Regions from separate parts of the Homo sapiens genome. Here all the other regions are linked to region 1. The links are contacts of gene promoters, found by promoter capture Hi-C in blood cells and fetal thymus (Javierre and others, 2016). All regions are on one chromosome and are shown on one strand. The core of a region is centred on a gene start or on the middle of the fragment in contact, and the rest is flanking DNA. Distances in the headings are between cores, read along the strand shown. Region 1 holds the start of ZFHX2 (zinc finger homeobox 2). Region 2 overlaps NRL (neural retina leucine zipper). Region 3 holds the start of TINF2 (TERF1 interacting nuclear factor 2). Region 4 holds the start of REC8 (REC8 meiotic recombination protein).

Region 1 (5,930 bases), core at 405-2,904:
CATGTTGGTCAGGCTGGTCTCGAACTCCTGACCTCAGGTGATCTACCCACCTCAGCCTCCCAAAGTGCTGGGATTACAGGAGTGAGCCACCATGCCCGGCCAGCCTCTGCTTTTTCATTGAGAAAATGTGGCCTGCCTCACAGTTACCTGTGAGGATTCAGTCATAAACTGTCACATAGTATAAACTCAAAATGTTCATTTATCTCTCCTTTTTGTCATGTGAACTTCAGGGTTTTGTTGTGTTGTTTAAGAGAAGTAGGCTATAGCAGTTAGTATGGGCCCTGGAGCCAGACCATGGAGGTTTTTGAGTCCTGGCACTGTCACTTACTTATTGGCCATTGGACCTTGGGCCTGTTAATTCACTTGTTTGTGCCTTAGTTTCCTCAATAAATGAGACTATAATAGCATCTACCTCATGCTTGAGGTATTGAGAGGAGTAAACAATGTATGTAAAAGTGCTTGGAACTGTCCCTGTGCATTCAAGAAATCTTAAAAATTATTATTAGAATACAGGAGCGGCCGGGTGAGGTGGATCACCCCTATAATCCCAGGACTTTGGGAGGCTGAGGCCGGTGGATCACCTGAGGTCAGGAGTTCGAGACCAGCCTGGCTAAGATGGTGAAACCCCCGTCTCTACTAAAAATACAAAATTAGCAGGGCATGGTGGTGGGCACCTACAATCCCAGCTACTTGGGAGGCTGAGGCAGGAGAATCACTTGAACCTGGGAGGTGAAGGTTGCAGTGAGCCGGGATCATGCCACTGCACTGCAGCCTGGGCGACAGAGTGACTCTGTCTCAAGAAAAAAACAAACAAACAAAAAAACGGGCTGGGCGCGGTGGTGGTTCACACCTGTAATCCCAGCACTTTGGGAGGCCGAGGCAGGCGGATCACAAGGTCAGGAGTTCGAGACCAGCTTGACCAACGTGGTGAAACCCCGTCTCTACTAAAAATACAAAAATTAGCTGGGTGTGTTGATGCATGCCTGTAATCCCAGCTACTTAGGAGGCTGAGGTAGGAGAATCGCTTGAACCCGGTGGTGGAGGTTGCAGTGAGCCGAGATCGCACCACTGCACTCCAACCTGGGCGACTGAGTGAGACTCCGTCTCCAGAAAAAAAAAAAAAAAAAAAATTCAGGAGCACTTAATAAGCGATAAACTGAAGATGAGGAGGAGCCCGAACCTCCCCCAACCCAGCTCAGGGGACTATGTAACCGTGTGGAGGAGGCAGAAGCTCTCAGAGACTAAAGAGTAATTGCTGCGGTAGAGAAGGTTCTAGTACCCAATTTCGCGGGGGGAGATGGGGGAGGCGGAATAATAAGGCAGGAAGAAGAGAATGAAAAAAGGAGGCCTTGGGCGGCTCAGGGCTTGTTCTGAAGCTGATTTAAAACAAAACAACAAAACACATGTATGGTTTCTGCAGGCCACAGGATGAAGAGGAGAGGAGACGGAAAAGAGTTTAAAGGGGCCTGCCCTCTTTGCAGGCACCGGCTTGAACCTGGAGGCGACCTGGTGGGCTGGCCGGCCTGCCCCCGGCCCTGGGTCCCGCGAGGCAGGCGGGCGGGCGCGAACAGACTACAACTCCCGGCATGCGCCGCGGCGGGCGGGTCGCTGCACCTGCTCAGTGGGGCAGCCCCGGGCGCCTGGGTATTGATTATTCCATTGTGTGGGACGCCTAGACTCCAGCCAGTGAATGAGGCGGAGGAGTGAGGGCGAGGAGGAGGAGGAGGAGGAGGGCGAGGAGGAGAAGGAGGAGGAGGAGGAGGAGGCAGGGAGCGAGCGAGTGCCCAGGGTGAATCAATGGAAACCCCCTCACGAAGCCGGGGAAACACTTCAGCCGCAGCCAAATAGCATTGATTATTTTCCTTCACTTCCCTCACCGCCGTGAATTTATTTATTTATTTTTTTCCGTCTCCGTCCCTGACGCCCCGGAGCGAGCGCTGGAGGGAGGGAGGAGGAGGGGAAAAAAGAGGAATCAACACATCGGAGAAGTCCCTTCCAAGAGCCGCCCCCTCCCCTCCCCGCCTCGCGCTGCTCGGTGGCCGCGGTTCGACTCCCGTCCCTGCTTCCAGCTGAGGTGTAAGTGCATCGATTTCCGATGCTGCTGGGTTGGTTTTTTTCTCCTCTCCCTCTCTCTCTTCTTCCCTTCCTTGCTCTTTGGAAGCTCGAGACGGGAGAGGAGGCGCTTGGAGACTGCCGCTGGAGGGGACGGAGAGGGACGGGAAGGGGCTGGGGGAGGGGACAAGGACGGACGGACAGACAGACCGAGAGCCCTGGGAGATAGCAGACAGGGGTGTGGGAGGAAGAGGGCGTGCGCGAGGATGGGGGAAGAGAGATGCGGGGGTGGAGGGAGAAACGGGAACGGGAAAGGCAGAGGCCCGCCGGACAGACGAAGGGTATGGAAAGCCTAGACGGACCGCGCCGAGTTGGGCAGGGAGCGGGGATCCCGGGGGGAAGGGGAGGCCCGGTGAGTGTGAGGGCTCAGAGCTGTCAGCCTGGAGGGTCCTGGGTCTCGGCGGCCCCCCGCCGGCTGTGGGATGGGAGAACCGCGGCCGGCGGGCTGATGGATGGGCTAGCGCGCTGGGGCGTGGAGTGGGAGGGGACGTGGATACTCTCAGTCTTCGTTCGTTTTTGGCTGAAGTTGGGCTTTCCATTCCTTTTTTTGAAAGTGTTGAGTAGGTGAGGGGAGGCCATAAGCCCATTCAAGGTGAAGCGTGTCTGTCCTGCACGCCCATCCTACCACCCCCATCCGCTCGTCTGCCCCTCTGAGCAGCCCTATCATTTTCAAGCACAGGACCACGCTTCCTCGCTGTGCCTGTAGCCCCGCTGATCTCTGTCCATGTGTCCCTGACTTTTGGTTTTGCTGTTCTTCATCTTGTCTCTTCCATCCCATCCATCTCTGGATCTGTATGTCACTGTCTCCACTTGTGACCCTTCCCATCTGAGTGATCCTCTCCTTGTGTGTCTCTATCACTATGTGTCACGCCTTGGCTGCCTGTTCTGTCGGTCTAGGATTCCATGCCCTCTCCTTCAGAGTCTGTCTGGATATCTCTGGCCTTTTCAGGCTACTTTGGAATTTGCTTATCAGTCATGATTGTGGTGGTCACAGTCAGGGCCTGGAGGAGTGGGATGATGGAGCAAATGTGTCTTCGCCAAAGCCTCTAGTGCCTTCAGCATGGCCAGGACAGCCTCCTCTTCCACCATCACCAGAGAAGCTTTGGAACTTCCTAGCATTGTTGACTGTCCCCTTTGCCATGTGCCTGTCTCCCTCATCAGAACCTCACCTTCTGGTCTCATGCGTGTCATCTGCCTTTCCAGGAGCTTCGCACAACAAAACCTCTTCCCTGCTGACTTAATTTTACTCCCTTCCCCCACTGTATCATTGTATATTTTTTATTTCCCCATTTTGCTTCACCCCTTTTTTCCATCTGTTTCCCATGAGCTCTGAGTTTCCACCTTTGTTCCCATAATCTGCCCTCTTCCTACCTTTTCTTCTTGATCACCCTAAGTTTCTAGTTTCTTTTATCCCTTTTCCTCTTATCCAGCATTTTAACCCCAGCAGCAGAAAGTACCAGCAAGCAAAGGGCTGGGAGAGGTGTGGGGTATGGTTTGTGAAGGCACATAAACAGGCCAAGAAATAAATTTAATGAGCTTCCAGGGGCATATAACCCCTCCATCAGTCAGTGCCATTATGTCAGTTAACTGTCAACTTTGATTTTGTAAGGGGACATTCCCTAGGACTCTAAGCTCCACCCTGCCTGGTTGCCCCCCATCCTTCAGTTCATTCTAGATATCAGTTGCTTTTTCTTCACTTTTTAGTTCATCTTCTTCCTAGGCCCCTGCTACTATCATATTTAGATCCAGCACCATTTTTTTTTAATGAGGCAGTGTTTATTAGTGTAATAAAAGCTATCGTATGTAAGGAGCCAAGTTCATTTAGCCTGAAGAACAGTAAGGGTGGATAAAGGATCTGGAGAGTTTACCTTAGTTTTTAGCCCATCATTGTTTTTCCAAACCTCAGGAGCTTGGAAAGGTAAAAGGAGCAGGCAGACATGGGCAGAAGATGGACGATTTCAGAGGTGAACAGAATTAAAGAAAGAAAGGGGTGGTCGGTGCAATAAACACATGGGGTAGAGAAATGTATGACGTGAGGGATGTGCAAAGGAAGGGAGGAAAATCTATGCGGACTCGGGGGCAGGGGAGGAACCAAGGGGTGATTAATAAGAAATTGGAAGAATGAAACAAAACGTGTTGATAGCAATACAGAAGGTAAAAGGAAGAGAAATGATAGAATATTCCTAAAGTGGAGGTCAACAGAAAAAGCACTATGAAATTAATACAGTAGTAAAGAGGGGGAAGGGAGGAATTGCTGAACAAGATGAGATGGGAAGAGAGTATGGTACAAAGAAGGTAAATGGATGGCAAACGAAGGAGTGCTGAGGCAGATCAGAGCTGCACAGAGCTTGGTAGGAGGAAAAGAGGAGAGGATGAGGTATCAAAGGAAACAAATGCCTCTGGTGTGAGGAGGACACAGCGTGACTGATGCGAAGAGAGCGAGAGCACTGCGGGGGCGCCGGGGGGTTGGAAAAAAAGCATAGCACAAATAGCAGGAATACCACTGGGCGAAGCCCCAGAAGAGAGAAATGCCCAAGAGAGGGAGAGAAAGCAGAAATATCCAGGGAAGAGACAGAGAGAGAGAGAACCTCACGAGCATTCATTTCATTGGCCTAATCACTCACTACCCCCACGAAAGGCCTTTGTATTTCATTCCCAAGCCAGAACACAAGCAAAGAGATGAAAAAGTAGAATTCCCATAAACTTCAGCTGAGAGGAACTTGAATCTTCCCAGCCCCTGAGAACCAAAGACCTCAAGCCTCTGATGTCATAAATTGCTGGTATTGCCTTGGCAACCTGACAGGGTTCCTCCCTCCATGATGTCAGAGGCAGCTGGTGTTACCTTGAGACCCATACAGGAATCACTTGCTGCTTTGCCGGGGTGCTGTATCACCTACGGGCCAGGGCCTGGGTCGAATTGGTAGGATTTCTGACTCTGGTAGCTTGACCTTGCCTCCCTGGAGCTCTTCCCAGCTCAGAACAACAGTTGTCACAAATAACTCCTGTTTGTGAGCACCTGAGGTTTGCTAGAGCCTGACAGTAGCAAGAGGAAGGAACCTAAGACAGGGCATTGAGGTCAGGATGGTTGGATCAAAAGGCAGGCAGAGACGGAAGAGGAGGACTAGAAATGGCAGTTACAGAATGTGAAAGGAGAAGGGCTTTGTGAGTGGGGAGGAGAGTTGTTGAAAGTGTAATGGCTTTGGGTTTAGGAATGGAGACTAAAGCTAGAATGCAGAGGGAAGGGATCGGGGCTGTGTGAGTGTAAACTCATTCAGGGATTGAGAAAAGGGAAGGGTTGTGAAATGCCAGAGGGCACAGTGGAATTTGGCTGTACAGAAAGGGGGGAAATGGGACAGAGTCCCCTAGTCTGAGAGACTTAGCTGTCTGGTGAGAGACTCAGGGTTAGTCACATGGTCATCTGAGGAGTGGCTACATCTGTCTAGTTTCCAATTGTTTTCCAGCACCTAGCACAGTGTCTGTCACACAGAAAAGGCTTAATAAATATCTACTGATCAAACGTTGAATTAGTAGGGAGAGGCTGGGGGAAAGAGTTGCCCACCTAATTTTCACCCACTCCCCCCACCTAAGTCTACATTAATGGGCAAACTGGGAAATCAGAAACCGGAGGGAATGGCTGGAGGGTAGTTAACCAGTGACAGTGAGATCTGAGGCAGACAGGAGAGACTGGGTTAGGGTCACACTTGGAGGCAGCCAGGGGAACTCTCAGGGCTCATGTGCAGAGTCTTTGTAGTGATAATTGGAGGAAAACATGAATGAACAGCCCTAGGAGCCCAAGAGGAAGATGTGGAGGAGGGAAG
Region 2 (6,552 bases), core at 1,791-4,290, 540 kb before region 1:
GCTTAAAGAGTCATTTGCTCGGTCACCCTAAGGGAAGAATCAAGGAAAAAGGGAGGCAGGACCCCAGAAGTATGCCAACATATAACACCCTAAATCAAAGGTCAAATGCCGCACTTGACCTCCAAGATGCCTGCTTGGGCCTCTTCCAAGTGTACTTTCCTTTCTTTCATTCCTGCTCTAAAGCTTTTTAATAAACTTCCATTCCTGTTCTGAAAAAAAATTATTCATGAATATTTTATACTTTTATCCTATTATGAATGAAATGTTCTAATTGTTTACCACAAGTACATACAAATAAAATTGCTTTGTGTATATTGAAAAAAAAAAGAGTCATTTGCTCAAAGTCACACAAATGGTTAGCAGGAGAAATGGAATCTGAATCCATATCTTTCTGACTCTAATTACCAAGTCCCCCTCTCCCTATAAATCCTATACTGTCCCCTTGATTTACCATTAAAAATTAGATCATATCACTCTTAAGCTTAAAATCTCTTCCAGGCTCTTTCCATCACATGATATCTTATGTCCTTCATAATCTGACTCCTATTTATCTAATGTTGTCACCCCCACATCCCCACTTGCCTCCTTTTCTCCTACGTACTGAACTCTGAAGTTTCCAGAGCACTTCTGTGAACTTTTTCTGGGCATCTGCACTCAAATTAAACACACACCATCCTGGCCAACATGGTGAAACCCCGTCTCTACTAAAAATACAAAAATTAGCTTGGTGTGGTGGCGCACGCCGGTAGTCCCAGCTACTCAGGAGGCTGAGGCAGGAGAATCGCTTGAACCCGGGAGGCGGAGGTTGCAGTGAGCCGAGATCGCACCACTGCACTCCAGCCTGGGCAACACAGTGAGACTCTGTCTCTAACACACACACACACACACACACACACACACACACACACACACACACAGGCCTTTTCTGTTCGTCCCTTAGAATGAACATCTATTTCATCTGTGTTGCTTCTATCCCATGTATATGCCTATATTTTTGTACTTTACTATACTGTAGTTACTTTTATATCTCTGTAATCCTCACTAGAGTGATGATTTCAGTCTTGTTTTTCTCCTAGTTCCCAGCAGTACCTGGCCTATAACAGGCACTTAATAAAAGTTGGTTGAATAAAAGAATGAATGAGTGCCACGTTTCTGAATTCTTCTTCCCCACCATTACTTTCTTCTCTAGCTTTAGGCAGATGGAGCAAGGGGCTCACGTGCAGATTTCCTTGCACTGCTCATTTCCCCTTATCTGCCACACACTTTTCTTTAGTTCCCTGCCGGGAGAGCCTGGCCCACCAGCTGGCCCTATGTCCAAGGAGTACCACCAGGGGGCAGAGTGTGATCTGCATTGTCCTCTCTGGGGCCTCTGGGTTCATCCCTGAAGTCTCACAGCCCGAGTAGTGATGCTGTGGTGTGTAGCCCAGATTCCCGCTTCAGGATCATGATGCTCATTGTTCCAGCTGCTGAGTGTTGGCTGCTGATAGCTCACAGCTGAGTACTTCCTTGAGCACTATCTGTGGCCAAAGGGAGCTGTCTCACCAAATGCAATGCCCGCTTCCTGGGGGCAGTATGTATCCAATGAATGGTTGTTATAAAGTACAGAGGCCTAGCCCTTTGTCTCAGTTTGGGACAACTCTGAAGGTCCATCCCAGCCCCAGAGCTCTTTAGGCTCAGCTGATTACAACTGCAGTGCCATTCAACTGTTCCCTCTCTTGGGTCCTGCTACTCTTTCTTTGAAAGTCCCCCCCCGTGCCCCCCCCCCCCCCCCGAGTAAACCACCTGCACACAAGTTTCTGTCTCAGAGTGTGCTTCCAGTTGCAAATATTCCTCAGGCTCAACTTGGTTACGGCATTAGTCCTCTAATCTGACTCTTATTTCATTGTTGCCTTCCTCCACAAACACAAAGTGCTGACATACGTGATCCTTCCGAACACAAATCTGATCACATCATGTCTCTACTGAAAACCCTTCAGTAGCTTCTCCCTGCTCTTAGAATAAAGCCCAAACCCTTAATGTGACCTCCCAGGCTCTGCATGATCTGGCCCCTGCTGACTTCTCCAGCCTCAGCTATCACTGTTCTTCCCACCTTCCAGGCTTTCTACTCTCTGGCTACGTGGATCTTTTCTCAGTTTTGTGAACATGTCTACATCTTTCCTGCCTCACAACCTTTGCATATGTTGTTTCTGCCGCCTGGAATTCCCACCCTGTCCACACCTCCAGGCAGGGTCACTTCTTATTCACCTGACCAGTCTTGGTTTAGCATGACTTTCTTAGGCAACCTGTCCCTGTGATGCATCCCCTCTGGCTTTGTATTAGAGTATGTCTTCGTGGAAGAAAATTTCATAGCACCCTGCCCTTCTTCTTCTTAGCACATTCATCTCTGTTTAAATGGTTTGTTTTTATGTAGACACATCTCTAACATATGTAGGACCTGCGGCAGGAGTACAAATAGAGGCCCTCAAACCTTGTGTTTAAATATTTAAAATGGGCTGGGTGTGGTGGCTCATGCCTTGTAATCCCAGCACTTTGGGAGGCAGAGGCTGGAGGATCACTTGAGCCCAGGAGTTTAAGACCAGCCTGAACAACATAGTGAGACTTCTTCTCTACAAAAAATAAAAAAGTAGCCAGGCATGGTGGTGTGCACCTGTAGTCCCAACTGCTTGGGAGACTAAAGTGGGAGATAGCTTGAGCCCAGGAGTTCAAGGCTGCAGTGAGCTATGATTGCACCACTGCACTCCAGCCTGGGTAACAGAGCGAGACCCTGTCTCAAAAAAAAAAGATTAAAATGTATAACTCAGGGTCGGCGCAGTGGCTCATGCCTATAACCCCAGCGCTTTGGGAGGCTGAGGCGGGTGGATCATTTGAGGTCAGGAGTTCAAGACCAGCCTGGCCAACATGAAACCCTGTCTCTACTAAAAATACAAAAATTAGGCCAGGCGCAGTGGCTCACGCCTGTAATCCCAGCACTTTGGGAGGCCGAGGCGGGCGGATCACGAGGTCAGGAGATCGAGACCATCTTGGCTAACCCAGTGAAACCCCATCTCTACTAAAAATACAAAAAAAAAATTAGCCAGGCATGGTGGCGGGTGCCTGTAGTTCCAGCCGGAGTCTGAGGCAGGAGAATGGCATGAACCTGGGAGGCGGAGCTTGCCGTCAGCCAAGATCGCGCCACTGCCCTCCAGCCTGGGGGACAGAGCAAGACTCTGTGAAAAAAAAAAAAAAAAAAAAAATTAGCCAGGCATGGTGGTGCATGTCTGCTACTTGATAGGCTGAGCCAGGAGAATCACTTGAACCCAGGAGACAGAGGTTGCAGTAAGCCGAGATCACACCACTGCACTCCAGCCAGGGCGACAGAGCTATCTCAAAAAAAAAAAAAAAAAAGTATAATTCAGGCTAACAAACTGTTACACAAAATATATTCTGTTCTTCTACCTTGACAAATATATTGACAAATACATACTTCACAATGGCCTGGAAGGCCAGGTTCAGATTTGTATTTTATTTGGAATCCTCAGGGTTCTGCACCAGAATGTGATGGTGTAGGGGGATGTAGTTTTGGCCACTGGCCCTCAGCTGGGCCCACTTTGCCTCCTACCCCTGACACCATCTTGGACTGCAAGGGGCCTTGTGTGGAACCATGTGGACCTCCCATCAGGCCATCCCAAGTCTGTCCACAGTCTCCTGCAAGCAGCTACCCCTTGTCTACCCTTTGACCTCAGAATGTGTGAACCAGTCATGTGGCCCAGCCGTGGGAGGGCAAACCCAGGGAAGAGGTTCACGTGGGCCCTAGGAGTGGGCTTGGGCCTTTTGGACAGGGAATGCTTAGCTATCTGGAGTGTGGTCCTGAGAGGATTAAGGTATGGGCAGAGGATAGTTGGACTCCTCACCCATGTGGTGGGACATAGCCAGAGGAGGCCAGAGTGGAGCCTTCTAAAGCACAGGGCCCAGGGCAGGGGCCACTCCTGCCTGGGCCTAAGGACAATAATTTATTTATTATTTTTTTTTTGAGACAGGGTTTCTTTCTGTCTCCAAAGCTAGAGTGCAGTGGCACCATCATGGCCCACTGCACCCTCATCCTCCCCAGGCTCCTGATCCTCCCACCTCAGTTTTTGTATTTTTAGTAGAGACAGGGTTTTGCCATGTTGCCCAGGCTGGTGTCGAACTTCTGGGCTCAAGCGATCCACCCATCTTGGCCTTCCAAAGTGCTAGGATTACAGGCATGAGCCTCTGCACCCAGCCAAAGGGCAATAATTTGATGTTTCTCTGTTTCATCAGTCTGTAAGTTTCTTGAAGTCAGGGCTGGTATTAGTGTAAGTTACTGAGGGGTCGCTAATGCCTTACTCAGGATGTGGTGCAGAATAGGTGTTTAATATGCATTTTTCAAAAGAATGTAGGAGGTACACCAAGAAGAGGTTGAGGATTTGGATCTATTACTGAAGATCTAGATACCATGAGCCAGAAGTAGGAATGAGAACCAGTCTTTCAGGGTTCCAAAAATGAGAGTGCAGGACAGAGGAGAGGAGGTAGCATCCTGGAATGCTGACTGTCTCATTTTCTCTCCTTCCTCTTCATTTTCTACCCCACTCCTGCAGGCCCTTTGCCTGCCTGCCCCTCTTTCCCCATGGTCCAATATCACTCCATCCATATCTTGCTACCTTTCTGTCCTTTGGCCACTGCTCTTCCTCTGTGGCCTATGTGTCTATTTCTTTGTATTGGTGTCTAGGTCTTGGTCCCCAATCTTATGTCCTGTCCCTTCCTTCTACCACTCTTACTGTTCTAGTCCTTGTTGTCCCCTACTCCCTTCTTGGTCCTCTCCTGGAAGACTTCCTTTCTTTATCCATCTCGTCCATGTGCCTACATCTTTCTGTCTCCTTTAATCCAAATCCCCATGGAGACCCTGACTTGTCCTGTCCTCTATCTCACATCTACACCTACTGCCTCCTTAGTCTCCTTCCTCTGTTCTATTATTCCTGGAGTCACACTGGCTTCATCTTTTTCATCCCTAGATGTCCTTGAGCCCATTAGTCTCAGTATTCATTTCTCAGTCTCCAGTGGATATGGGAGATGGGCTCTGCTTTCTGGGTCCCCACTGACTGCCACAGACTCTCCTCTCTGTGCCCTTGGTCCTTTCCTCTGGCCCAGACTGGGCCCAACCCTCACTCCCCCAGCTCCTTTCCCTGGTTTAGTGGTGCCTGGTCTGAGCCCCAAGCAGCTCAACTCGCCTGAGCTTGTTTAGTCTGACTCCCTTAGCCCGTTAGCAGCTTAGCCCTCCCACCTCTCCTTTGAGCCCTCCAGTAAACAAGAGGATCAGTGCAGACCTGACAGCTGCTGGTTGGGGGCAAGTGTCTGGCCAGGCCAGAGCAGGCATGAAAAAGGGGCTGCACTCAACACTTCCCATTCCTTCTTCAACCAGGGAAATTGTAGAGTCTCTTTCCTGGGTGTCCACTTTGGAGAGCTACATTCCATGGGCATGTGTGTGGGGTCCTGCCTCTCCATGATCCTCATTCCCATTTTGTGGTTGGTTCCTAGGCCTTAGGCTTTTTTATTCTTTTGAGAAAACAGCAGTAGATCCAGGCAGTCACACAGAGAAGCTTGAATGGTGACGATGGTTTCTGCTCCTTAAAACAGAAACCCAGGTGTGGGAAGAGAGTGATGTCATCTGATCTAGGTTTTCCAATATGTGTATGGAAAGCATGGTAGGAGAGACCACATACACATGCACAGACAGACATATATACATGCCTCCCCAGGGAAGCTGGGTAGACTGCAGGCATTCTGTGCAGTTCTCAAACTTTCTTTCTTTTCTCTTCTTTTTTTTTTGAGATGGAGTCTCTCTCTGTTGCCCAAGCTGGAGTGCAGGGGCACGATCTCGGCTCACTGCAACCTCCGCCTCCCAGGTTCAAGTGATTCTCCTGCCTCAGTAGGAGTAGCTGGCATTACAGGTGCCTGCCACTATGCCCAGCTAATTTTTGTATTTTTAGTAGAGATGGGGTTTCACCATGTTGGCCAGGCTGGTCTTGAACTCCTGACCTCAAGTGATCCGCCCACCTTGGCCTCCCAAAATGCTGGGATTACAGGCGTGCCTGGCCTTTAAACTTTCAAGCATGTCAGACTTGCTGGAAGGGCCTTAAAACACAGATTTCTGGGCCCCACCCCCGGAGTTTCTGACTCAGTAGATTTAAGGTGAGATCAGGTAACATGTATTTCTAGCAAGTTCCCAGGTGATATGGATGCTGCTGCTCTGGGGACCACACTTCAGAAACCACCTTCTTAGATAATCTGTATCTGCCAGCTTTTCCCCAACATATAAGGCTGGGACCAGGTTAAGTTTTATAAGTGATGACCTTTGGGGTCTGATGGACACCCAGGCCTCTGTGTTGAGAAAGAGGAACTATTAACCCCATGGGAGTATTTGGGTGGCCTCAGAAGGTAGGAAGTGGCCTTTAACTCCATAGACCCTATTTAAACAGCTTCGGACAGGTTTAAACATCTCCTTGGATAATTCCTAGTATCCCTGTTCCCACTCCTACTCAGGGATGATAGCTCTAA
Region 3 (6,600 bases), core at 4,101-6,600, 690 kb before region 1:
AAGAGGTAAGCTTGGGCCAGTTCATTAAAAATCCTTTTGCCATATTTAGGAGTTTGGACTTTCTTCTGAAAGTAAGGGGGAGCTTTCAATTAGGGATGATATGATCAAGTTTTGCATTTCACATGATTCATAATGAAAGCAACATAGAAAAGAAATTAGAGGGGTTGGGCTGGAGGTAGGAAGATAGAGTCCTCTTGGGATGAGAGATAGGAGAACCTGAATTAGGGTAGAAGCAGTACGAATGAAAAAAAAAGGGTGGGTTTGAACGTTGTATAGGAAATAGAACTGATTAGACTTGATAACAGATTCAATTTGGAGAGGAGGGAGGGCAGAGATAAGGGTGGTGGCCTGAGTTTCTGACTCATGGGTGCCACGAAGAGAGGTGCCATGCACAGAAATTCGAAGCTCAGGAGGAAGACCATATTATAAAAGGGAAGGTAGACCAGGCACGGTGGTTCACGCCTATAATCCCAGCACTTTGGGAGGCCAAGGCAGGTGGATCACAAGGTCAGGAGTTCGAGAGCAGCCTGGCCAATATGGTGAAACCCAGTCTCTACTAAAAATACAAAAAAAAAAAAAAAATAGCCACGCATGGTGGCACATGCCTGTAATCCCAGCTACTCGAGAGGCTGAGACAGGAGAATTGCTTGAACCCGGGAGGTGGAGGTTGCACTCCAGCCTGGGCGACAGAGTGAGACTCCATCTAAAAAAAAAAAATGAAGATAACGACCTCTGGTTTTTAGTCTGGCCTGTAACAAGCTTAGGAGTCCTCACTCCTGTCCTCACAAAGAAAAATGCTGAACAAACTGAAAGTCAGCAACTCTTGTTGGATCTATCAGAGAATTGAGGGCACAGGGCAAACTGCTGCCCCTAAAACTGGAGAGACAAAAAGGCAGATACAGAGAATCACAACTTAACAGCAGAAGCCCAGAAACAGAAACAGAAACAGAAACTTCTGGGGAGCCAGTACCAGGGTAGGAAAACTTAAAGTGTAATTGACTCATAGCTGGAGGCTTAGGGTGGACAAATTTGAGAGCTAAAAAATCTATAGTGGCCAGGCATGGTGGCTCATGCCTGTAATCCCAGCACTTTGTGAGGCTGAGGCACGCAGATCACTGAGCTCAAGGGTTCGAGACCAGCTTGGGCACCATGGCAAAACCCCATCTCTACAAAAAAGACAAAAAGTAGCCGGGTGTGGTGGCACATGCCTGTAATGCCAGCTACTTGGGAGGCTGAGGTGGATCACCTGAGCCTGGGGAGGTTGAGGCTGCAGTAAGCCGAGATCACGACACTGCACTGCAGCCTGGGCGACAGTGAGACTGTCTCAAAAAAAAAAAAAAAAAACAAAACATCTAGGGGTCCCATTCTTAGGGGGGACCCTACCCTTTTTTTGGTTTTTGTTTTTTATTTTTTGTTTCTTGTTTTTGTTTTTCCCAGGCTGGAATGCAGTGGTGCAATCACAGCTTACTGCAGCCTCCAACTCCTGGGCTCAAGCAATCCTCCTGCCTCAGCCCAAATAGCTAGGACTGCAGGTGTGTACCACCATGGCTGGCTTTTTTTTTTTTTTCTTTTGAGATGGAGTCTCGCTCTGTCACCAGGCTGGAGTGCAGTGGTGCGATCTCAGCTCACTGCAACCTCCACCTCACCTCTCAGGTTCAAGTGATTCTCCTGCCTCAGCCTCCTGAGTAGCTGGGATTACAGGCACGCGCCACCATGCCCAGCTAATTTTTGTATTTTTAGTAGAGACGGGTTTCACCATGTTGGCCAGGATGGTCTTGATCTCTTGACCTTGTGATCCACCCACCTCAGCCTCCCGAAGTGCTGGGATTACAGGTGTGAGCTACTGCGCCCAGTCACCTGGTTAACTTTTAGATTTTTTTGTTTGTTTGTTTTGTTTTTGTACAGACATGGTCTCACTATGTTGCCCAGACTGGTCTTGAACTCCTAGCCTCAAGCAATCCTAGGTGTGAGCCATGGCACATGGCCACAAGTTTTACCAGGATCCCACAGTGAAAACTGGAGAACCCCCTGCCCCGTGATTCTGGCAAAGGGGAGGAGGAAAGTAGCCACTTTGAAATACATCCATTGCATTCTGTTCTCACTCTGTTGCCCAGGCTGGAGTGCAATTCATTGCAACCAGGCTGGATTACAGCTCACTGCAACCTCAACCTCCTGGGCTCAGGCAATCTTTCCACATCAGCCTCCTGAGTAACTGGGGCTACAGGTGTGCACATCTATGCCTGGCTAGTTTTTCAATTTTTTTTGTAGAGACGGGGGTCTCGCCATTTTGCCCAGGTTGGTCTCAAACTCCTGGGCTCAAGCAATCCACCTGCCTCGGACTCCCAAGAAGTCAGCTACACAGAGATAGCAGCTGAAAATGAGTAATTCAGCTGGGCACGGTGGCTCACGCCTGTAATCCTAGCACTTTGGGAGGCCAAGGCAGGTGGATCGCTTGAGGTCAGGAGTTCGAGACCAGCCTGGGCAACATGGCAAAACCCCATCTCTACTAAAACAAAAATTAGCCGGGCGTGGTGGTGTACGACCTGTAGTACCACCTACTTGGGAGGCTGAGGCACCAGAATCGCTTGAACTTGGGAGACACAGGTTGCAGTGAGCTGATATTGAGCCACTGCATTCCAGCCTGAGCAACAAAGCAAGACATTGTCTCAAAAAACAAAAAAAACCCACTGTAACAGAAATGATGAATGTCTGTGATGGGCTCATCAATAGACTGGACATGGCCAAAGAACATGGTGCGCTTGAAGAAATGTCAACAGAAATTTCCAAAGCTGAAATGCAATGAGAAAAAAAAATGAAAAAGAACAGAATATCCAAGAATTGTAGGACAATTATAGAAGCTGTAGCATACACATAATCAGAATGGCAGAGAAGAAAATAAAGGAACATAAGAAATGTGGCAATAATGACTGAGAATTTCCCCCAAATTAATGACAGACACAAAACACAGATCCAGGAAGCTCAGAGAGCAGCAAGCAGGATAAATACAAAAAACAAAAAATGAAGATAGACTGGGCTGGGCAACACAGAGAGACACCCCTTCTCTACAAAACATATTTTTCTTTTTTTTTTTTTTTGTAGAGTCAGGGTCTCACTGTATTGCCCAGGCTGGTCTCAAACTCCTGGCCTCAAGTGATCCTCCCACTTCAGCCTCCCAAAGTTCTGGGATTACAGGCATGAGCCACCACACCCACCAAAAAAGATTTTTTAAAAAATTAGCCAGGGACTGCGTGCAGTGGCTCACGCCTGCGATCCCAACACTTTCGGAAGCCGAGGTGGGAAGATCGCTTGAGTCCAGGAATTCGAGACCAGCCTGGGCAACAAAGACTTGTCTCTACAAAAAATAGAAAAAAATGAGCCAGGCATGGTGGTGCATGCCTGTAGCCCCAGTTACTTTGGAGGCTGAGGCAGGAGGATCACTTAAGCCCAGGAGGCAGAGGTTGCAGTGAGCCAAGATCACTGCACTCCACCCTGAGCAACAGAGCGAGACTGTCTCCCCACCTCAAAAAAAAAAAAAGAGCCGAGCGCGGTGGCTCACGCCTTGTAATCCCAGCACTTTGGGAGGCCGAGGCGAGCGGATCACGAGGTCAGGAGATCCAGACCACGGTGAAACCCCGTCTCTACTAAAAATACAAAAAAGCCGGGCGCGGTGGTGGGCGCCTGTAGTCCCAGCTACTCGGGAGGCTGAGGCAGGAGAATGGCGTGAACCCAGGAGGCGGAGCTTGCAGTGAGCTGAGATCGCGCCACTGCACTTCAGCCTGGGCGACAGAGCGAGACTCCGTCTCAAAAAAAAAAAAAAGTAAAACAACAGAAGTTCATATCTACATAAGAAAGAAAGAACATTAGAGAAGGAATAAATAAAGGGAAAAAGGAAGATAACTAGAATTTCACACATATCCAATTTGGGGTACTTTGGGACTGGGTGTTTCTTGGGCAGTCGAATGTGCGGATCAGCTGAGACTGATCCGGGGCGGAGACAAGGATGTGTGAACCATTATCTCTGGGAATGGAAGACATGGGCTAAAGACGGAGCAGTTTCACTAAATCCTTGTAAGGTGGTCAAGGCAGGCAACTAATCCAGCCAACAATTAAGGAGTGTAAGCTGTGTGTTAGGTTCTGTGCTTGCTGATGGAAATGAGAGGCACCAGGAAGCCTGTGGAAGAGACAGTCAAGGAGAGCAGTCAATTACATTAGGGGGCTGACAAGTTCAGTGCACAACAGAATCCTAAAACAAGAAACTAATTTGTGTGTGTGTGTGAGACCCCGTCTCACTCTATCACTCAGGCTGGAGTGCAGTCACTGAAGCCTCAACCTCCCTGGCTCAAACAATCCTCCCAACTCAGCCTCCTGAGTAGCTGGGACTACAGGCGTGCCACTACGCCCGGCTAGTTTTTTTGATTTTCAGTAGAGACAGGTTATCGCCATGTGATCCAGTCTGGTCTGGAACTCCTGGGCTCAAGCGGATCGATCCTCCCCTCTCGGCCTCTCAGAGTGCTGGGATTACAGGTGTGAGTCACCGTGCCCCCAGCCTGTATTCTATTTCTTCTTCTTCCTCTTTTTTTTTTTTTTTTTTTCTTTGAGAGAGATTCTCCCTCTGTCGCCCAGGCTGGAATGCAGAGGCAAGATCGCGGCTCACTGCCACCTCCCGTCTACTGGGTTCAAGCGATTCTCCTGCCTCGGCCTCCCGAGTAGCTGGGATTACAGGCGCCTGCCACCACGCCCAGCTAATTTTTGTACTTTTAGCAGAGAAGGGGTTTCACCATGTCGCCCAGGCTTGTCTGGAGCTCCTGGGCTCAAGTGACCCTCCTGCCTCGGCCTCTCAAAGCGCTGGGATTAGACACAAGCCACCACGCCCAGCCTGTATTTTATTTTTTAAGGGCGGGCGCCCTCTTCTGTTTTATAAAAGGAACAGTCGAATTCCTACTGGAAGCGACGCGCGCAGAGGGGAAGGCTTTGTAGACGCCGGCTCGGGTCTGGAATTTAAAGAACTAAATTTCGATGGGTGAAGACAGTGGGAAAGGGCGGTGGCATGATCCTCGTTTTACAGACTAGGAAGTCGAGCCTCACGGGAGTGACGGGGCTTCTCCGCAGGCTCCGCGAAGAAAGCAAGGCTGGGAGGACCCAGACGAACGGCCACAACAGCCTCAGCGGCCACGACAGCCTCAGCCGCCAACTCATGTCAGCCGGCAGAGAGTGCAGGAAGCGGGCAGCTACAGCTCCGCTGGGGCGTGGCCTTCTGACGCACCGTCACGGTTCCCTCTGTGGCCGCCCATTGGCTCCCTCTTACCGCCCTTTTCCGGGGCAAGGGAAGCTAGTAGCGGAGCCGGAAGTGAGGCACCCTCGGGCTCGAGACAGCGGCGACGTTTAAAGCTGAGCGACCCAGTGCCACTGGAGACGGTCAGCTTCTCCACTCAGGCTCCTCCAGCCCGAGCCAGAAGACCCCCTCCCCCAGAATTCTGGGGGCCGATGGAAGGGAGCCGAGTCAGATCGCGAGGTACCCAGAGCCGACAGACCGGAGCGACAGGGAGTTGCCAGAAGCCCCGCCCCTAGGAGTGATCGGAAAGCCTCACCCATCCGGGTGAGGAACCCGGAGGGACCGCCTCCGGGCGGAGCCCGCCGACCATGGCTACGCCCCTGGTGGCGGGTCCCGCAGCTCTACGCTTCGCCGCCGCGGCTAGCTGGCAGGTTGTGCGCGGACGCTGCGTGGAACATTTTCCGCGAGTACTGGAGTTTCTGCGATCTCTGCGCGCTGTTGCCCCTGGCTTGGTTCGCTACCGGCACCACGAACGCCTTTGTATGGGCCTAAAGGCCAAGGTATTGGAGCAAGTAGGACCTGGAAGGGGAAAGAAAGAAAGGGGCGGGATGCGAGCACCTGACAAGGGCCCACAGCTTGGGGATGAGACTAGTTGGAAAAGGTCAGCTTGCCCCGAAGTGGGGATTCTGAATTCAGTACCGTACAGGTGGTGGTGGAGCTGATCCTGCAGGGCCGGCCTTGGGCCCAAGTCCTGAAAGCCCTGAATCACCACTTTCCAGAATCTGGACCTATAGTGCGGGATCCCAAGGCTGTGAGTAATCCCCGGAACAAGCCCTGACCCCAGTTACACTTGGTGCAGCAAAGTTGCTCCTCCTGTCTACTGGATGTTGGTGCTAACTTCTCTGTCTTCTGTATCCTCAACAGACAAAGCAGGATCTGAGGAAGATTTTGGAGGCACAGGAAACTTTTTACCAGCAGGTGAAGCAGCTGTCAGAGGCTCCTGTGGATTTGGCCTCGAAGCTGCAGGTGAGACTGGTTTGAAGGCTATTATGTGGCTATTTTCTCTAACCCATTTTTTTTTTTTTTTGAGGAATCTTGCTCTGTCGCCCAGGCTGGAGTGCAGTGGCACAATCTCGGCTCACTGCAACCTCTGCCTCCCGGGTTCAAGCGATTCTCCTGCCTCAGCCTCCCGAGTAGCTGGGATTACAAATGCCCAGCTAATTTTTGTATTTTAGTAGAGATGGGGTTTCACCATGTTGGCCAGGCTGGTCTCGAACTCCTGACCTCAAGTGATCCGCCCACCTCGGCCTCCCAAATGGCCAGGATTA
Region 4 (5,871 bases), core at 2,782-5,281, 620 kb before region 1:
TGGGCTAGAGAGTGATACCCCATCTCTCAAAAAAAAAAAAGGATAAGAAATCTGACCTCAGAGGACTCTTGTGAGGTACTGATGAGGTTATACACATAAAATGCCCCTCACCAGGCACGGTGGCTCACACCTGTAATCCTAGCACTTTGGGAGGCCGAGGCGGGTGGATCACCTGAGGTCAGGAGTTTGAGACCAGCCTGGCCAACATGGTGAAACCCCATCTCTACTAAAAATACAAAAATTCGCCGGGCATGGTAGTGCACATCTGTAATCCCAGCTACTAGGGAGGCTGAGGCGGGACAATTGCTTGCAGTGAGCCGAGATCGTGCCACTGCACTGTAGCCTGGGCAACAGAGTGAGACTCTGCCTCGAAAAAAAAAAAAAGCGCCCCTCACAAGGCCTGGCTCTTAAGCTCAAAAATGGTCATTTCTACAGCTCTTGGGCCTGCCTATGCCTCTCACCAGAAAGAAGGTTCTCTCTGCTGACCTGGCTCCCTGGGCTCTGTAGGAACTTCAGGAGGGATCTCTTCAACTCTCTCTGGGATTGCAGCCTCTAAGAGGTGTCGAATCTTTGGAGAGGGATTGGAAACAAAAGATAGGGTTCAGCTTCAGCCCCCTGCTTTCCCACTTTTCACAGCCTTCTTCAACAATGCACGGTAATCTCCTTTTATGCCTAATTCTTGTTGCATTGACATCAGCTTGCAGTAAACTCACCCGCCCTCTGGTCTTCTTTCCTCAGTTCCTGTTCTCACCTCCCTCCCCAACCCGCACCCCAGTTATCTAGCCCTCATCAATTTGTGCAAGAAGGCCGGGCTCGGTGGCTCATGTCTGTAATCCCAGCACTTTGGGAGGCTGAGGTGGGTGGATCACTTGATGTCAGGAGTTCCAGACCAGCCTGGCCAACATCGTGAAACCTGATTTCTACTAAAAATACAAAAATTAGCCGGGCTTGGTAGCAGTGCCTGTAATTCCAGCTACTTGAGAGGCGGAGACAGGAGAATTGCTTGAACCTGGGAAGCAGAGATTGCAGTGAGCTGAGATTGAGCCACTGCACTCCAGCCTGGGTGACAGAGCAAGACTCTGTCTCAAAAAAAAAAAAAAAAAATTTGTGCAAGCAGCAGTGCATCGTTATCCTTGGCAAGTGTTGTGGTTGACAGAGGTGAACAGAAAAGATTCTTGATCTTAAGGAAGTCTAGTGGGGAGACAAGGTTGTATGTAACCCCACAAGAGTCAAGGCAAAGGGTAAAACAAGGCCCTAGCAAAGTACTGAGTTCCCAAACTGCATTTGGTTCCGGCTAAGACTGGGATAAATATTTCATAGAGAAGGGCAGCATTTGAGCCAGGTCTGTAAGAATATGTAGAACCCGACTTGTAGAGGATGAGGGGTGACCATTATGGGCTAGGGAAACAGTACAAGCAAAGATGTGAATGTGGCATCATTGAGGCATAAGGGCCAAACTAGTGTTTAGGAGCCACAGATGCCCAGAGGACTGAGAGAGAAGTCTGGGGATGACTAGTTCTAAACTGGGGTATGTGCCAGGCACGGTGGTTCACACCTGTAATCCCAGCACTTTGGGAGGCCGAGGCGGGTGGAGTGCCTGAGATCAGGAGTTCAAGACCAGTCTGACCAACATGATGAAACTCCATCTCTACTAAAGATACAAAAATTAGCCGGGCATGGTGGCAGGCATCTGTAATCCCAGCTATTCGGGAGGCCGAGGCAGGAGAATCGCTTGACCAGAGGAAGCGGAGGTTGAAGTGAGCCAAGATCATGCCACTGCACTCCAGCCTGGGTGACAGAGACTCCATTTCAAAAAATAATAATAATAGGCCAGCGCGATGGCTCACGTCTGTAATCCTAGCACTTTGGAAAGCCAGGGTGGGTGGATCACCTGAGGTCTGGAGTTCGAGACCAGCCTGGCCGATAAGGCGAAACCCTAAAAAAATTGGGCCGGGCTCTGTGGCTCATGTCTGTAATCCCAGCACTTCAGGAGGAGGAGACAGGCAGATCATGAGGTCAGGGGTTCGAAACCAGCCTGGCCAGCATGGTGAAACCCTGTCTCAACTAAAAATACAAAATCAGTTGGGCATGGTGGCAAATGCCTGTAGTCCCAGCTACTCGGGAGGCTGAGGCAGGAGAATTGCTTGAACCGGGGAGGCAGAGGTTGCAGTAAGCTGAGATCGTGCCACTGCACTCCAGCCTGGGCCACAGAGCAAGATCCTGTCTCAAAAATAATAATAATAATAGTAATAAAATAAAAAAAGAAATAAATGGGGCATGGAGAGCCCCAAATGCTAGTAATCTGTTTGCAGCAGGAGCCACTGTTCAAATGGGGAACCAAGGAAGGGGGTGACATTAAGCTGTAGGAGTATTGGGAATAGATGGAGGAGGACAGGGGTAAGAAAGCCCAGTGCAGAGAGATGAGAGCCTGGATTAGGGCCTTGGCAGTGAAAACAGTGTGGAGACAAGTGGGGACAAGAGCTGCCTCCAGTGGGGAAACCGTCTGATCAGATTGGCCCTGAGTAGGTAAGTACAGGGGGCTTCGCCTGGATGGGTCCACCTTGGCAGTCCCCCTGCACCATCTCCTGTGGGAGAGAGCTGTGGTAAGCTTCCTTCCCCAACCCCAATGTCAGAGTGACACAGGGACAGCACTCCCCTTCTGCATTGCCAATTCACGAGTCTTGGGGAATGAGCCCTACCTGAGGGATATCGAAAGGACTAGGAAGTCTGGGATCCACAGACATCATCCCAAAAAAGGGATCTGGAGCATCTTCTAGGGTCTCCATCATGGCCAGGTGGTTAGGAAGCAGCAGGCTGGGTCTGGGAGAGAATGTAGGCCGTGAAGGACTGAGGCTGAGCCAGGCTGAGGCCAAGCTAGCAGGTGTTCCATCAAAGGCCCAGGGCACACTCACAGCTCAGTCTCCATATCTATTCGGATCTGCAGCTGGGCACGGTGGAGGCGCTCCAAGATGTGCTGGATGTCCTCTGTGGGCAGGGAGGACGAGGTAGACAGCCAGCTTAGCAGACAGCTGCTCAGCCCGCCCCACCTTTGAGGGTTCCCAGCCTTACCCACGAGGTACTGGCATTGTTGAGAATAGACGCGGATCACACCGATCTGAAGTTGGGCTGAGAGATAGAGGGAGAAGCGGGGCCGCGGCAGGCCGGGCTGCGGGGGTTGCACTCGTACCAGCACGTAATTGAGGATTTCCTCGCTGGGGAACAATGCGCCCTGATTACCGCTGCGTCCAGGAGTGGGCCCACAGTCTTGGCCACCCCATCCCCTAACTCACCCCCCGCACCAGGCCCTCCTTCCCTTTTCTGGGCCTTACCAGGTTTTCACCACATTCACCCTCAGGTATTCGCGCTTCACCAACCGGCTGCCGCGAGTCGCCGCCAGCCTGAAGTGGGTGGGGAAGGTGGGAGAATGGGGATGGAGGGGGAGCTGTCAGGCTGGGATCCCGGGCAGCGTCCGCCATCGCGCGCCAACGGGCCCCGCCCTTACCAGATGGTGGCAAAGCAGCCGGTGTGGCGCTGAAGCACGTTGGGATAGTAGAACATTGTCCCTCTGGTCTTTCACCCTCGATTCCACCAGATCCCCGTTCGGATCTGAGTCGGAATTCTTTAGGGCACAGAATTCCCAACACCTTGGAGAGAAGTCAGGATTTGGACTTCTCTGGTGGCAAGGTGGGTGCACCTAGAAAGCCAAGTTAATGAGGCAACGAACAATGGGCAGATACACAATTACCAGGATAACTGAGACGCAGGAGATGGGCGCCCCTCTCTGTGGACCCTCAGTGGATCCGCACGCCACGTGATGCGTCAAACTTGAGACTTCTGGGTTGGGTTCCAGGTTGGAGATGCAGAGCTCCAAGGGGACGTCCGGGCCGGAATCCAGAGCAGGTCCCGAGGGAGCACGGTGTCCTCCACAGCAGGCCTCGGTCCTCGAGCGCTGGGAGCGATGTCAGGCCCCTGGGCCTTGCACTGGCTTGGGCGGCCGCGGTGTGGCCCCGGGCCGCCTACTGCAGGACTAGATCGCACCGCGGGAAGCGAGCGCTTCGGGGCACCGCACCTCGCTCCTCATTAGATGGCGGCTTTTGCCCTGACAGCCAATGGGGAACGGGGGTCGGGTCGGGAACGCCAAGTATCCTGGCAACAGGGTCTCCCGAGGCAGCCAGCAAACCAATCATAAGGATTTTGCGCGCCGCTGGGGTCCATTGTGAGGTGTTCCGACCAATGGGCTCCGGTTCTCGCCTCTAGTAACAGGCGCCCCTTCCTTGACCAATGAGCGCATCCCCGTCGCTCCCCCGCCGCTCCCCCGCCGCAAGCCTGGCAACAAGGGCGCCTCAATTGGTAGGGGAGGTCGGGTCACCTCGGGGGCAACTGTACTGGGCCTCTTCCGGGTGCCAAGATGTACCTTGCACGGCGCCTGACCTGAGGTTAGACCCCGCCCTTCCCCCAATCCACAAACTCCGACTTTGTTTCCAACTAGGGCGTGTCGTGTGCTGCAGAGGAAGAAAGATGTGAGATGAGGCCGGGCGCAGTGGCTCACGCCTGTAATCCTAGCACTTTGGGAGGCCGAGGCGGGCGGATCATGAGGTTAGGAGTTCGAGTCCAGCCTGACCAATATGGTGAAACCCCGTCTCTATTAAAAATGCAAAAGTTAGCTGGGCGTGGTGGCACGCGCCTGTAATCCCAGCTACTCAGGAGGCTGAGGCAGGAGAATGCTTGAACCTGGGAGGCGGAGGTTGCAGTGAGCCGAGATCATGCAGCTCCACTCCAACCTGGGCAAGGGAGCAAGACTCCGTCTCAAAAAAAAAAAAAAAAAAAAAGGCTGTGAGATGATGGCCTTGGAGCCACCACAGGTCAATGAGGAAGAAGTCCATTTTTTTTTTTTTTGATGGCCTTGGAGCCACCACAGGTCAATGAGGAAGAAGTCCATTTTTTTTTTTTTTTTTTGAGATGGAGGCTCTCACTGTTGCCCAGGCTGGAATGCAGTGGCGCTATCTCGGCAATCTCGGCTCACTGCATCCTCTGCCCCCCATCCCCTCAGGTTCAAGCGATTCTCGTGTCTTGGCCTCCTGAGTAGCTGGGATTACAGGCGCCCTCCATCACACCCAACTAATTTTTGCATTTTTAGAAGAGACGGGATTTCACTATGTTGGCCAGGCTGGTTTCTTTTTTTTTTGAGATGGAGTTTCACTCTGTCACCCAGGCTGGAGTGCAGTGGCGCAGTCTCAGCTCATTGCAGCCTCCGCCTCCCCGGTGCAGGGGATTCTCCTGCCTCAGGCTCCCGAGTAGCTGGGATTACAGGCGCCCACCACCACACCTGGCTAAATTTTGTATTTTTTAGTAGAGACAGGGGTTTCACCATGTTGGCCAGGCTGGTCTCGAACTCCTGACCTCAGGTGATCCGCCCGCCTTGGCCTCCCAAAGTGCTGGGATTACAGGCGTGAGCCACTGCCCCCAGCTGAAGAAGTCAATCTTACACGAAACTCCGAAAGGACTTACTGGGGTCACTTCCTAAATCTGAACAACTTAGGTTATGGGCACGCCACGTGTGGTCCTTTCCCAGCTGTCAGTGTTCTCCCGGCTGAAATAGACTTTAGCATTTTTGGATGCAGCACAACTTCCTAGCCTGGAAAAGCCATATTCTCAACAATTATTGTGTAAATTTAAGAGGTACAGTTGTAATAATAACCCTTGTCCCTATGCCTCCTACCTTTGCACAGCCATTTCTTTGGCCTAGAATGTCCTTCTCTGCCTTGACTCCAGAGCATGCTTCTTCCTGAGACTTATATCTTACTGCAGCTGAGCTGACCCTATCTTCTTACAGTCCCCTTCAATTTGAGAGTTTTTTTTTTTTTTTTTTTT

Evidence for each region. The method cuts DNA at HindIII sites, captures the fragments that hold promoters and counts their contacts. A CHiCAGO score of 5 or more calls a contact.
Region 2: a fragment that was not itself captured here is called in contact with the fragment with the promoter of ZFHX2 in region 1 in 1 of 17 cell types (naive CD8 T cells); the score reaches 5.2 in naive CD8 T cells.
Region 3: the fragment with the promoter of TINF2 here is called in contact with the fragment with the promoter of ZFHX2 in region 1 in 1 of 17 cell types (naive CD8 T cells); the score reaches 5.9 in naive CD8 T cells.
Region 4: a contact is called between the fragment with the promoter of REC8 here and the fragment with the promoter of ZFHX2 in region 1, in 2 of 17 cell types (naive CD4 T cells and naive CD8 T cells). The highest score is 5.2, in naive CD4 T cells.

The regions. Positions count from the first base shown.
Region 1 is chr14:23,547,489-23,553,418 of GRCh38, reverse strand. ZFHX2 (zinc finger homeobox 2) reads left to right here and starts at 1,654. Exons shown (of 10, transcript NM_033400.3): 1 at 1,654-2,076. It also overlaps a transcript of THTPA not described here. RefSeq lists enhancers at 1,301-1,350, 2,200-2,862, 4,986-5,609 and a silencer at 1,481-1,720. The HindIII fragment of the contact is 16,619 bases long and covers 1-3,214 here.
Region 2 is chr14:24,085,485-24,092,036 of GRCh38, reverse strand. The region is part of intron 1 of NRL (neural retina leucine zipper); the gene reads left to right. Among named protein-coding and RNA genes, the nearest start is that of PCK2, 5.6 kb to the left of the region's middle. RefSeq lists enhancers at 1,573-1,622, 2,538-3,037. The HindIII fragment of the contact is 5,113 bases long and covers 484-5,596 here.
Region 3 is chr14:24,241,373-24,247,972 of GRCh38, reverse strand. TINF2 (TERF1 interacting nuclear factor 2) reads left to right here and starts at 5,350. Exons shown (of 9, transcript NM_001099274.3): 1 at 5,350-5,832; 2 at 5,979-6,083; 3 at 6,197-6,298. The coding sequence starts at 5,641. RefSeq lists enhancers at 851-1,050, 4,902-5,201, 5,372-5,631, 5,702-5,921, 6,582-6,600 and a silencer at 4,416-4,710. The HindIII fragment of the contact is 13,864 bases long and covers 762-6,600 here.
Region 4 is chr14:24,170,240-24,176,110 of GRCh38, reverse strand. It overlaps REC8 (REC8 meiotic recombination protein), which reads right to left and starts at 4,031. Exons shown (of 19, transcript NM_001048205.2): 1 at 3,503-4,031; 2 at 3,330-3,398; 3 at 3,070-3,212; 4 at 2,913-2,985; 5 at 2,700-2,820; 6 at 487-568. The coding sequence starts at 3,558. RefSeq lists enhancers at 3,801-4,050, 4,119-4,619 and a silencer at 4,221-4,270. The HindIII fragment of the contact is 5,740 bases long and covers 2,611-5,871 here.